Linked DNA regions of Homo sapiens: region 2 is linked to region 1. The links are contacts of gene promoters, found by promoter capture Hi-C in blood cells and fetal thymus (Javierre and others, 2016). All regions are on one chromosome and are shown on one strand. The core of a region is centred on a gene start or on the middle of the fragment in contact, and the rest is flanking DNA. Distances in the headings are between cores, read along the strand shown. Region 1 holds the start of OGDH (oxoglutarate dehydrogenase). Region 2 has its middle 20 kb from the start of TBRG4.

Region 1 (7,400 bases), core at 2,065-4,564:
CCTGACACCTTGTCTCAAAAACAAACAAACAAAAAAGGTGCGGTCACTGTGGGAATTTATCACTTCCTGAAAAAGCTAGACAGAATTCCCATATAACTCAGAAATTACACTCCCAGGTATACAGGCAAAAGAATTATAAACAGGTGTAACCACAGGACCAGTTGAATCTGATTCAGTTTTTTTTTTTTTTTTTTTTTTTGAGATGGAGTTTTGTTCTTCTTGCCCAGGTTGGAGTGCAAAGGAGCGGTTTTGGCTCACTGCAACCTCCGGCTCCCGAGTTCAAACGATTCTCCTGCCTCAGCCTCCCAAGTAGCTGGGATTACAGGCACCCACCACCAGCCTGGCTAATTTTTTTGTATTTTTAGTAGAGATGGGGGTTTCGCCCTGCTGGCCAGGCTGGTCTTGAACTCCTGACCTCGGGTGATCCACCCACCTCAGTCTCCCACAGTGCTGGGATTACAGGTGTGAGCCATTGTGCCCAGCCTGGTTCAACTTTTATCAGTAACAAAATGATGAGTTGTTTTTCAGTTACAATAGATCCCCAGGCTGCAAGTCACGTAACCTAAGTATGCCCAGATGAACAAAGTGTGCCTGATAGCTGACCCTGGTGTCGGTGGGAACACAAAAGTCAACCACAGGCAGGACTTAACCACTCAAATGGAGGAATGGACACCAAATTAGGAAGCATGGGGCGCCTTGTTTTGCTGCAATATGAACTTAAAAGCCAAAGATCCAGCATTGCCCCTTTGCATGACCCAAACAGATCACACCTTGTTGTATTTTCCCATCTCCCTCATAGTTGCCTTCTGCCTATAAAACCTGCCCCCAGATTCCATCTTGGGGAGACAAATTTGAGTATTGCCTCTGGTTTCCCTGCTGGTCGACCTTACGATAAAGCCTTTTCTCAAAAGGTGATGACATAGTATTGGCTTCTATGTGCATCTAGCAGTGAGCCCACTGCTTGGTACCACAATGGGCTCAAACATTTATAAGCCAATGTTCATTGCAACATTATTCAAAACAGCAAAAAAGCAGAAATAACCAAGTGTCCATCAATAGATGAATAAATAAACAAAATGTGGTATATACATACAATGGAATATTATTCAGCCATAAAAAGAAATGAAGTTCTGGCCAGGCATGGGGGCTCATGCCTGTAATCCCAGCACTTTGGGAGGTCGAGGTGGGTGGATCACTTGAGGTCAAGAGTTCAAGACCAGCCTGGCCAACATGGTGAAACCCCATCGCTACTAAAAATACAAAATAAGCTGGGCGTAGTGGCGGGCGCTTATAATCCCAGCTACTTGAGAGGCTGAGGCAGGAGAATTGCTTGAATCTACAAGGCAGAGGTTGCAGTGAGCCGAGATGACACCACTGCACTCCAGCCTGGGCAACAAGAACGAAACACCATCTCAAAAATAAAAAAAGAAAGAAAGAAAAAGAAAAAAATATTAGCCAGGCATGGTGGAGCGTGCCAGTAGTCCCAGCTACTTGGGAGGCTGAGGCATCAGAATCACTTGAACCTGGGTGGCAGAGATTGCAGTGAGCTGAGATGGCACCACTGCCCTCCAGCCTGAAACCGAGGGAGATCCTGTCTCAAAAAAAAAAAAAAGAAATGAAGTTCTGACCCATGCTACAACACAGATAAACCTTGACAACCTCATGCTCAATGAAATAAGGTGGACACAAAAGGACATATACATTATGATTTCACCCACATAAAGTAATTGAGTAATCAAATGTATAGAGACCGTATAATAGAGGTTACCAAAGGAGAGAAGGACAGGAGGAGAAGGGGAAATAGGAAGTTATTGCTTAATGGTTACAGAGTTGCTGTTTCAGGTGATGAAAAAGTTTTGGAAATTGAGTGGTGACGGTTGCATAATATTGTGAATGTAATTAATGCCACTGAGTTATACACCTAAAAATGGTTAAAATGGCATTAAAAAAAAAAAGACAGTATCTTGCTCTCTGGCCCAGGCTGGAGTGCAGTGGTACAATCATAGCTCACTGCAGCCTCAATCTCTCAGGCTCAAGAGATCCTCCTGCCTCAGCCTCCCAATTAGCTGAGACTACAGGTGAGTGCCACTACACCTGGCTAATTTTCTTGATTTTTTAGTAGAAATGAGATCTTGCTCTGTTCCCCAGGCTGATCTGGAACTCCTGAGCTCAAGCGATCCTCCCGCCTCCACCTCCCGAAGTGCTGGGATTACAAGCGTGAGCCACTGCACCCAGCTGCAAATGTTTAGTACATACATTTTTACCGTAATTTATTTAAAAAAAAAAAAGGAAAAAAGAATACAGAAGTTTGTTCCTTGGTCTCTTCACCTCTTCCAGTCTCTAGATCCTTGTCACATACATTACCCTAACTTTGTTCTATAATAAGCACTTATACGCCCCCTTTTTTTGTTTGTTTTTTGAGACGGATTTTCGCTCTTGTTGCCCAGGCTGGAGTGCAATGGCACGATCTCGGCACACCGCAACCTCCGTCTCCCGGGTTCTAGCGACTCTCCTGCCTCAGCCTCCCGAGTAGCTGGGATCGCCACCACGCCCAGCTAATTTTTGTATTTTTAGTAGAGACGGGGTTTCCCCATGTTGGTCAAGCTGGTCTCGAACTCCTGACCTCAAGTGATCCGCCCGCTTCGGCCTCCCAAAGTACTGGGATTACAGGCGTGAGCCACCGCGCCCGGCCTTTCCCCAAATTTTAATACTTTAAAATAGGGAACATCTTACAATCAACAGGTTGTGACAGGTTAATTAGCCACGTTTTATCTTTGATAGGTAGCTCTAAAGTCAAGAAAACCCAGGCAAGATCCCGGGCAAGATCCCAGCACTGCCAACTGTCATTTGTAGACCGGGGATAGGAACACCTGTCTCACAGATTGTTACACAATAGCGCCGGTGAAGCGCTTGTCACAAAGCCTGACCCAGGACAATCTCAAAAACGGAGATTCTGTTATTCAAATTGTTTATTTTTGTGCGCTAAGTTTCACATCAACCCAACTATCTCTTGATAGGTTCCTACCAGGCGCTAGAGATATCTTACTTTCAGAAATTATTTATGATAGCAGAAGCCGCTGGAAGTCCATAGACAACCTCATCTCTCTAGCGGAGCAAACAGCTGGGCTCCAGCTGGCCCTGGCTTCTGCAACTGCGCAGTCGGCGCTGTGACGCCCGGCGCGGCTCTGTGACGTCACGAATCGGTCCTCTGTAAGAGGGGAGGGCATTCTTCTCCAGGGGAGGGCTACGTGTTGACGCCATACGCCGGGGCGGGGCCGAGAGTTTGGAGCCCCGGAGTGGGGTGTCGGCGCCTCATTCGGGTGGAGCTGAGCCGGAGACAGGTAACCGTGCGCTGTCGCCGCGCCCGTCCCAGTGCCGGGTGTCGCGGCGCTTGGCGGCCCGGGGTTGGAGATCGCGGTAAAGGGGGAGGCCGCCGCGCCCTTGGTGCTGCGGGCGCCGCGGTGACAGGGGAGTGGAGCTGGATGGAGTGGGGCTCACGGAGGGTGGTAGGAGGGACGGGACCTGATGGATGGCCGTGGCAGCCAATGGAGCCGCGGGGCCTGCCCGGCGGGCGGAGATTGGCGGGTACGGGCGGGCTCCGAGGTCGCGCGGGGCGCGGAGCGACGCGCCATTGGCGGTGGGCGAGCGGGGGGCGGGCGCGGCGGCGGATGTGAGGGAGAGGGCGGTGCGTCCGCAGGGGTGACCCCCAAGGTCGCCGCGGGCGTCACGTGGTTAGGCCGCTCTCCGACGGCGTCCTTCCCGACCGGGACGCACTCTCCTTCCCGCCTGTGAGGACCGCGTCGCTTTGTCCGAAAGACAGTGTGGCCTGCTCGAGTTGCGTCGGAGCATCTGGCTTTGGGGTGGCCCTGGGTGGGACTGCCTGTTTGGATTACCGCGCAGACCTTGGCGCCGCCCCCACACCTGCTGCCAGAAGTTGGGTCGAACAGATTGACCGAGATGAAGCTTATTTCTCGTAGAAACATCTTTCAAGCACCATTTTCCCTCGAAAATATATCAGACATTGGATATGAGTTGTAATCTACTGAGATTTAATAGAAAACTTGCCGCGCCCTCGCCCTGACCTGGGTGCGTCCCACCTGCCATCCCCATCCCTTTGCCCAGAACATAGGACTTCGTGTTAGGGTTTCCTTGTGCCTTGTCTTGCAGTCCGTACTTTGAGGCTGATTTCCAGGTACACTGCTCTGAACAGCTGGGTTTAGGATGGGTGGCATGGGATAAAGCCTTTTTTTGTAAGGCAGCACTAGTTGCAACAGTCAAACTGTACTTTGCCGTGTAGACCTAGGAGAGTATGTAACACTATTGTAGTTTTGTAAATTAGCTGAGGACTGGATCTTGGGAAGTTGAATAAAGATCACTGTATGCTCATTTTTTGTTGTTGTTGTCTTGTTTGAGATGGAGTCTCTGTCGCCCAGGCTGGAGTGCTGTGGCGCGATCTCGGCTCACTGCAACCTCTGCCTTCCTGGGTTCAAGTGATTCTCCTGCCTCAGCCTCCCAAGTAGCTGATATTACAGGCACGCGCCATCACGCCCGGCTAATTTTTGTATTTTTAGTAGAGACGGGTTTTCACCACCTTGGCCAGGCTATTCTCGAACTCCTGACCTCAGGTGATCCGCCCGCCTCGGCCCCCAAAGTGCTGGGATTACAGGCGTGAGCCACTGCGCCCGGCCCCTCATTATTTTTTTTAAGCGCACTTTTCACATTTCAGTTACTTTTTCCCTTTAAATAACATCTTTATTGAGATAAAATTCACATACCATACGATTCACCCATTTGACGTGCACAATTTCGGCCAGTCGTGGTGGCTCACGTTTGTAATCCCCACACTTTGGGAGTGTGAAAGGAAGATCCCTTGAGCTCAGTTCAAGGAGACCAGCCTGAGCAACCAAAGTGATACCCGGCGTCTACAAAAAATAAAATTATCCGGATATGGTGGCATATACCACATATACTTGTAGTCGCAACTACTCAGGAGGCTGAGGCGGGAGGATGGCATGAGCCAGGGAGGTCCAAGCTGCAGTGAGCCATTATTGCCCCACTGCACTCTAGCCTGGGTGACACAGTGAGATCCTGTCTCAAAAAAAAAGGCCGGGCGCAGTGGCTCACGCCTGTAATCCTAGCACTTTGGGAGGCCGAGGTGGGTGGATCCCCTGAGGTTGGGAGTTTGAGACCAGCCTGGCCAACATGGTGAAACCCTGTCTCTACTAAAAATACAAAAGTTAGCAGGGCATGGTGGCGTGGGCCTGTAGTCTCAGCTACAGGCTGAGCTCCTCCAGCCTCAGCAGGAGGCTGAGGCAGGAGAATCGCTTGAACGCAGGAGGCAGAGGTTGCAGCGAGTCGAGATGGCGCCACGGCACTACAGCCTGAGCGACAGAGCAAGACTCCATCTCAAAAAAAAAAGGAAAGAAAAAACTACAGTATCATCTACTTTTTAGATTTTTAGGTAATTTTTGAGATCATTGTACAAATTATTGAGAAATTCATTTTGAAAACAGTAAAATTTTAAGAAATTGTACATAAAAATTTATTCTATGCAGTCATAATAAATAGTACAGAGAGATCCTGTGTTCCTTTCCCACTTCTCTAACATTGTGCAAAACTATAGTAAATATCACAGCCAGATATTGACATTAATAAAATTCAAGATACAGAATATTCCCGTCATCACAAGGATCCCTTCCATTGCTTTTTTATAGCCACACCCACATTCCTCCCATTCCCAGTCCTTCAACTCCTGGTAACCACTAATCTGTTCTTCATTTCCCTAATTTTGGCATGTCAAGAATGCCAAATAAAAGGATTCATAGAGCCTTTTGGGATTGGTTTTTTCCAGTCAGCTTAATTCCCTGGAGAATCATCCAGGTTGTTGCGTGTTATGGGTAGTTCATTCCTTGGCCAGGCGCAGTGGCTTACGCCTGTAATCCTAGCAACTTTGGGAGGCTGAGGCAGGCAGATCGCTTGAGCCCCAGGAGTTCGAGTCTGAGGAACATAGTGAGACCTCGTCTCTACAAAAAAAAAAAAAAAAAAAAATTAGCCAGGCGCAGTGGTGTGTTCCTGTAATCCCAGCTACTCAGGAAGCTGAGGTGGGAGGATCGCTTGAGCCTAGGCTGTGGTGGCTGCGGTGAGCCGAGATCGCGCCACTGCACTCCAGCATGAGTGACAGAGTGAGACCCTGTCTCAAAAAAAAAAAAAAAAAGGTACTTCATTCCTTTTTATTGAAGCCGGGCTATTGGGCTATGGATGTACCACATTTGGTTTATTCATCCATTAAAAGACATCTTTACTGTTTCCATTCTTTGGCTATTACAAATAAAGCTGCTACAAACCTTCATGTACAGATTTTTATTTGAACATAAATTGACATTTCTCCAAGATAAATGCCCAGGAATACAATCACTAAGTCGTAGTGCGTGCTTAGTTATTAAACAAATAGCCAAACTGTTTTCCAGAGTGATTGTACTATTTTACATTCCCACCGGCACTGTATGGTCTTGTTTCTCCACATACTTGCCAGCATTTGGTGATGTTACTTTTTTTATTATAGCCATTCCAATAAATGTGTAGTAATGTCTCTTTGTGGTTGTAATTTGCATTTTTCTGATGGCTAATGATGTTGAACATCTTTTCATGTGCTTATTTGCCATCTGTCTATTCTCTCTTTTTTTGGAAGAGATGGGATCTTGCTATGTTGCCCAGGCTGGTCTTGAACTCCTGGGATCAAGTGATCCTCCTGTCTTAGCCTCCCAAAGGCTAGGATTTCAGGCATGAGCCACCATGCCTGGCCCCTGTATACTCTCGGGTGAAATGTCTGTTCATATCTTTTGTTCATTTCGTAATTAGATTGTTCGGTTTTTGTTAACTGTTGAGCTTTGAGAATTCCTAATGTATTCTAGATACCACTGCTTTGTTGGATATGTAGTTTGCAGATATTTTCTCCTAGTCAGCAGCATGTCTTTTCATCTTGGTTTTTTTTTTGTTTGTTTGTTTGTTTTGTTTTTGAGATGGAGTCTCGTTCTGTCCCCCAGGCTGGAGTGCAGTGGCGTAATCTCTACAACCTCTGCCTCCCAGGTTCAAGCGATTCTTCCGCCTCAGCCTCCTGAGTAGCTGGGATTACAGGCGCTTGCCACCACACCTGGCTAATTTTTGTATTTTTAGTAGAGACGGGGTTTCACCGTGTTGGTCAGGCTGGTCTCGAACTCCTGACCTCGCGATCTGTCCACCTCAGCCTCCCAGAGTGCTGGGATTACAGGCGTGAGCCACTGCTCCTAGCCCTTTTCATCTTTTTGTTTGTTTGTTTGTTTGAGACGGAGTCTTGCTCTGTTGCCCAGGCTGGAGTGCAGTGGTGCAATCTTGGCTCACTGCAACCTCCACCTCCCCGGTTC
Region 2 (6,904 bases), core at 3,366-5,865, 530 kb after region 1:
GGCACCTTGTTCAACAAATGGAAAAAAAGTACTGGTAAAGGTACTAGAATAAAAAAGTATTTTTCTCTTCCACAGTCTCTCTGTACTTGTCATGATGCTTTTCACAATGTGTCAATTTAAGTAAATGAAAATAAAAATTTCTTATTATGAACATGAGTATCAGCAGTCATTTTTATGTTGTACAATGCCAATTCAAAGGCAAACACAAGAGCATTGAGCTCTTAGGCAGAATCACCCAATCACACAATTCTTACCTTGTAGCTCACATGGGCACACATATACAACAGTGCAAACGCTGCACAAAACTAACTCAACTGGTTTTGTTCCACTTATTTTTTTCTCATTTCTTTTTATTTAATATTTTTGGATCCATCTGTTGTTCTGAGGAAACAGCTTCCTCTTAAGCAGTTTTACTCTTCTGACACAAGGAACTGGTTGACTGAATGTGTCAGATTAAACTTTCCCTCCATTACATCAAACCTGCTGTAACCAATGTTGTGGCCAGACACTCTTAGCACCCTAGGTCTGCTTTGCCTCTTATGGCCATTCATATCTATATGAACTTGTATATTAATAAGGATAAAAAGTTGCATTCTTTATTTTTATCTTATTTTAATAAGATAAAAATATTTAATTTAATTTAATTTTTTTTTTTTTTTGAGACAGAGTCTTGCTCTGTCACCCAGGCTGGAGTGCTGTGGCACAACTCCGGCTCACTGCAACCTCTGCCTCCTGGGTTTAAGCGATTCTCATGCCTCAGTCTCCTGAGTAGTGGGACTACAGGTGCTTGCCACCAAGCCCGGCTGATTTTTTTGTATTTTTAGTAGAGATGGGGCTTCGCCATGTTGGCCAGGCTGGTCTTGAACTCCTGACCTCAAGTGATCCGCCTACCTCGGCCTCCCAAAGTGCTGGGATTACAGGCATGAGCCACCGCACCCAGCCCTATTTTAATTTTTTATTGAGATGTAATTCACATGCCGTCAGATTCACCCCCAATTGTAAAGTGTACAATTGAGTGTTTTTTAGTACATCCAAAACGTCATACAACCTCCACCTCTAATTCCAGAACATTCCATCACCCTAAAAAGAAACCTAGTACCCACTATCAGTTACTTTCTATTTCCTTCCGTCCCCAGCCTCTGGCAACTGCCAATTGACTTTCTGTCTCTGTGGATTTGCCTATTCTGGACATTTCATGGAGATGAAATCATAGAACGTGTGACCTGCTGTGCCTGACTTATCTCACGGAGCGTGGCTGCTGAGGTTCATCATGTTGTAGCACGTGTCGGTGCTTCACCCTGTTTATGTACCATAGTATTCCTTGGTGTGCATGCACACACTCTGTTGGTCCATTCATCTATTGATGGACATTGGGCTGTCTCCACCTTTTGGCCCCCGTGAGGAGTACCGCTGTGAGCACTGGTGATTTCACCTGTTGACATGTACATGCCCTGCCAAGGCTCTCCTTCTCTGGCTACCGGACAAGCAAGGAAGGCACTTGGCTACTGTCTTCCCCTTTCCTGCTGTGCTGTCCTTTTCAGAGTAACTGGCTGGCTCCTACGGGAATAAGGCAGGCAGGAAAGGGCCGGCAGGGCTCCTGGGCTGCTCGTGTTTCTCAGAGACCCGTCGCATCCTTCTGTGGCTCCAGCCTGTCGGGAAGCCAGGGCCCCACTCCGTCTGTGCCTTTCTGGGACCTGTGCACATGGGATGGCCAGGCCTGCTGCACATGTGGGTCACATGTGTGTTTGTTCCATTGTCCCACCAGACTTCACTTACTAGCACATATGTTGACAGGTGAAATTAAGGATTTCAAGGCATAAGAGCAGAATGTTGAACCAAGCTTAGGGACACATGGTTGTGTGGGCTGCTGGCATGAAGTGGCACACACCTGGAGCCCCTGATTTACCCGCTGTCTTGGCTGCCCCCAGGGGTCCCAAAGACCCTCTGTCCCTGGCCCCTACTCCCCAGCTCTGCTCTAACTCTGACGTCTCAAGTCCCACAGAGGCTAGGCCCTGCCACAGCCTGACCCCCTTCCAGCCGGCTCAGCCCCTCCTGATCCACACCTCTGCCCTCACACCTCTCGGGGCTCCAGGCTCCCGCTTTCCCCTTTTCTCCCCAGCCACCCTCTGCCTGGCCAGTGGACGTCTTCCGATGAGTTCACTCTGTGGAGCCCCAAAGCTGTTGCGTTCAGAGTCTGCCTGGGCCCCGGGGCACGACTCCCATCACACACCCACCAACCCCTCCCTGCTTCCCCCAGGGACTCTTCCACGACCTTCGTCTGCTCTCAGGGCCCTGGAGCCCCACCTCCCACTCCCAGCAGCAAATGGCCTACTTCGACTTCAGAGAGGAGGGCGAGGCTGTCAGCAAGGCTGTGCCCACCCTCTGGAAGACTTAGTCTTCTTCATCCCTAAGTCTTCTTAGACTTAAGAAGACTTAGGGATGATCTTTCTCTTGCCTGTCATCTGGGTTCAGGGGATGACCTTTCTCCTGCCTGGGCCAGGCGGCCAGTTCGAGGCTGCTTCCAACACCACTAGCACCCCCAGTCATGTCAGGCCCAGTTCCATTCCCCTTTCTGCGCTCCTTTATTCCCTTCATTACTACTATTTCTGGAAGAAAAGCCACAGGCATGCAAGGATGACAACACACACGGTGCAGGGCAGGGGGCAGTGGCGTTCCCACTTGGCCCTGACCCCCGTTCTCATTTTTGGAGGCTGATTTCCTACTCTCTTCAGAGATGATCAAGCCTGTTCAAGTATGGATGTGCAGGTCCGTTCTCCTTAGAAATGCGACTTATGTGCACACTGTCTCCCCCTCCTTTTTTTTTTTTTTTTTCCATTTGGGGAACATCCATTTAGCTCAGCCAAACTGAGCTAGTTCTGTGAGCTCAGTTTGGCTGGGTTTTAATGACACACGCCTGCTTCTGAGTGGCGGCTTAGTCCCCTCGGTATGGATGTGTCCACATAATTGCTAGTCTCCTATTGATGGACATTTAGGTTGTTTCTGATTCTTTGCTACCACAGAAGACCCCAGCTTTCGGCATGTGGGCAGGGAGCTCTGCAGGGTACCAGTGTAGAGGCGGAGATGCTGGGCCAAAGGGTCCATGTTTCGCCCACATGGGAGGCCCCGCCCAAGTGTCCTCCAAGCATCTGGCCCGATTCCCAGTCCCTGCTGGCACACCTGGGTATGCAGGGCTGGTCCCCGACACCTCATGAGCAGACACGCTCATCCTGCCCACTGGGTAGATAGGTCGATGGGTGATGGTGGAGGCTTTTATTTTTACTTTTTATTATGATAATTTTAAACATACAGCAAAGTAAAAATAATAGTTCAATAGGTACTCACAGACCGATGGTCTAGATTAACCTTGTCAACATTTTGTCGGACTCATGTTACTATTGTTTGTGTTGTTGTTGGAATTTAAATCTGAAACATCGTGTTGTTTCAACCCCAACTACTTTCTTTTTTTTTTGAGACAGAGTCTCACTGTCACCCGGTTTGGAGTGCAGTGGTGCAATCTCAGATCACTGCAACCTCTGCCTCCTGGGTTCAAGCAATTCTCCCTGCCTCAGACTCCCGAGTAGCTGGGATTACAGGCTCCCACCACCACACCCGGCTAATTTTTGTATTTTTTAGTACAGACGGGGTTTTGCCATGTTGGCCAGGCTGGTCTTGAACTCCTGACCTCAGGTGGTCCACTCGCCTCAGCCTCCCAAAGTGCTGGGATTACAGGCATGAGCCACCACGCCTGGCCAATCCCCTACTACTTTCATATGAAGTTGGAAATCCCAGGGCTGTTTTCCTACAGATAAAATTATTCTACGCGTAAAGTAACTGCTAGTTCCATGAGCTCAGGTTGGCTGGGTCTTTCCTTCTCAGTGGTGTCCAGCCTCTGCAGTCCTCCTTCAAACTGCCCCTGCACCCCAGCTCCCCCAGCCTCCCTCCTGTTTCTTGTCCCTCTATAGTCCTCACTCCTCAGGGAATGTCTATGGCACTGCCACTATCCCCTTTCTCTGCTCTCCCCTCCCCTCATCCTGTGGGAAGCATCCGCCCACGCTCCCTGAGCCCCTGCCCTAGCCCCCACCCCTGCATCCCTGGCAGCAGCTCCCAGGCACAACCAGGGCCCTGCCTGGTCCGGAGCACGCCCATCTGTTCAGCCTTCAGAGGCCTTGGACCCACATCTGCCCACTGTTGCCAATGCAGAACTTGGCCTCCTCCCACATCTCCTTTCCCTGGGAATGGTTCCTCACAGCCAGAGACTTGGAGGGCCTCCCTTTTGTGTTTCTCCATCTAATCAGTTACCAAGAGGTTGGGCCACTGGTGGATGCCCCTCCAAAACCCTCTTGAGTGTGTTCCTGTCAGCTCTTCTGGGCTGCTGCCCTGGGATGGGCTGTTGTGGCATCGGCCACTGCAACAACCGCCTTAACACACTTGTCTGACTACAGACGATCTGATTTGTTCATGAGATGTCCTGTATACTGTCCTCCAGAGCACAGGACCTCTCTCATCTTGTTGAACAGCACATTTGCAGCATCTGGGGCATTAGCCTTTAATGGGAAGGAAGGGAGGGAAAAAAGGAGGAAGGGAGGGAGGAAGGAGGAGAGGGAGGGAGGGAGGGAAGGAGAGAGGGGAGGAGGGAGGGAGGAGGTGGGAGAGGGAGGGAAGGAGGCAGGGATGGAGGGAGGGAAGACTATATCAGGCCTCCCCACTTTCCAGTTAGTTGTCAATGCTCTGTCCAGCATGGCCTTTCACGCCTGGGCATGATCCTATCACAACCCCATCTGAAACTCTTCGGCGGTTTCCCATTACCTGGGGGGAGAAGTCCAAATGCTGGGGTGTGGCATTCATGCCCTTCATGACCTTGAATGAAGTGGCCTAGAGGAAGCGTTTGAGTGCATGCCTGTGTGAATCTAGTCTTGGCTGTGCTAGTTGTGTGACCTTGAGCAGCTTACTCCTTCCTCATTTGTAAAATGGGGTAATAATGAGACCTATTCCAACTACCAGAGGGAGCTGGGGCCCGGGGGGCCAGGAGGGAACACATGTTCTGTGTGGCTGGTGGGGGGCAGTGGGGAGGAGTGAGAGGTGTTGGCAGGACAAGGAGTTCGGGTTAGGTGCACAGCTGCCCTTAGAGCCCTCAGGGCCAAATGGAGAAGCCAGAGGGTTCCAGGAATGCCATTCCTCCAGGCTCACCAGCCCCAGAGGCAAGGAATGTAGGGTTCTTCTTGCGCCCAGGGGAAGGTTGTTGGCCCCTGGCTTGCCTGGCTCCAGCCTATCATCTTCTAAGATGCACAGGCTCTTTCACTCCCCAGCAGCTCCTGTGTGCCCAGGATTGATGGGGAAATGAGGCCCCGGGTTGTGGTCATCTGGAGCACACTGTCCCCACTCCTGGTCCTATGGGGTCAGCTGGGTCAGGATTTTCTCCAAAACTCTGAGTAAAGACAGGGATGGAGGAGGCCATGCTATTCCACAGGTGTGTCCTGGTCTTGTGGTGACTGCCACAGGCCCTGGGTACATGACCTGCCTTCAGCCCTTGCAATCAGGGTCACGGCCTCTGATCACGTGAAGGTCTCATGCTTGTCATCAGGGTCACAACCCTGGTGCAGGTCCTCAGCCCTTGTCATCAGAGTCAGGACTCCTGGGTGAATGTCCTGTCCTTGTCATTGGGGTCATGACCCTTCGGTGAAGGTCTCACTCTCATTATAGGGGTCCCGACCCTGGGTGCAGGTCCTGCCCTCAGCCCTCTGCCCTCATCATGGTCTGTCTGCTCTGACACCCTTCCTACATCTCCTGTCTCACCAAGTCATGTCCCTGCATACAGTTGCTACACCTCCTGCCTCTAGCTCCTGCTTAGAAAGTTCTCTCCTCCCATCTTTCAAAGCTCTACTGCCACCTCCTACTCCAGGGCTGCAAGGCTGTGAGGCTGCAGTGGGCCCTCTGCCCCTTCTCTTGTACCTAGCAGAACCGTGGGCCTCATGGGCCTGTGGTCATTGGCAGGTGGGTTGGATGTCCCACTGGCTCTGTTTCTGCCCTGGACCACAGCAGGTAGAGCAGGGCTGCAGAGGATGCTGGGCGCAGCCCTGGTGGCTAAGGCCTCATGGTGTCATCTCTGTCCAGCTTGTTCACTTGTGGTCCATTTGCTAACACTTGTGTGTGGCCAGGGGCACAGGCACATGAAATGCAGACCCCAGGTGCATACCCACAGAGGCTCCTCCCCAGCTGCGAGGCTTCTGACAGGGAGTCGCCCCCGAGCTTTCAGAAGAGTCCAGCGCTACACAAGGACGCAAGGAGCATGGATGGTCCTAGGCTGAGATATCATGCAGCCTGGCAGGTGCAGAGAAACAGGGTCTTTTTGGGGAGTCATTTTCTCCAACACTGAGGTGGGAGAGGGCTGGGGAGGCTGGCAGGGCTGGACCATGGAGAGCCATGGGGGCCAGGCCAGGGGTCAGGGTGGCAAGGCAGGATCAGACACGTTTTAGAAAGGCCCTTTGCCAGTTGACAGGGAGGTGGGAGGAGAGGAGAAGGGGAGCCTGGACAAAGGTAGGCACTGGGCCTGGGAGGAAGGTATGTGGGACCGGGGCCTGGGTCTCCTGGGCTGAGAAGGGAAAGTCCAGCAGGGGTGGGGTTGTAGAAGGGAGGGCAGCAGGCCTGGCCTCTACATCTCCATAAACTCTTGATTTCCAGCTGATGCCCCTACTCTGCAGAAACACTGACCCTGGGGAGATTCTGAGGCTCAGGTCAATGCCTTGGGTAGAGAATGAGGAGGTAATGAGCCCTGAATGGAGTGGCTTTTCACTGTTCCAGCCAAGGGGCCCCCTTCTTTACAGCTGGGGGCCTTGAAGCTCAGCTTGGTCAGGGACTTGCCAGTATCACACTGGGATTGGGGAGTGGCCCTGGGACTACCCTTGGC

What was found. Contacts are between HindIII fragments. The CHiCAGO score rates a contact against its expected background, and 5 or more counts as called.
Region 2: a fragment that was not itself captured here is called in contact with the fragment with the promoter of OGDH in region 1 in 2 of 17 cell types (fetal thymus and activated CD4 T cells); the score reaches 7.2 in fetal thymus.

Annotation. Positions count from the first base shown.
Region 1 is chr7:44,603,313-44,610,712 of GRCh38, forward strand. It overlaps OGDH (oxoglutarate dehydrogenase), which reads left to right and starts at 3,315. Exons shown (of 23, transcript NM_002541.4): 1 at 3,315-3,341. RefSeq lists enhancers at 2,875-3,474, 3,726-4,289, 3,965-4,304 and a silencer at 3,515-3,744. The HindIII fragment of the contact is 8,395 bases long and covers 1-3,961 here.
Region 2 is chr7:45,127,969-45,134,872 of GRCh38, forward strand. No RefSeq gene overlaps it. Among named protein-coding and RNA genes, the nearest start is that of TBRG4, 20 kb to the left of the region's middle. RefSeq lists an enhancer at 5,853-6,353. The HindIII fragment of the contact is 5,554 bases long and covers 1,839-6,904 here.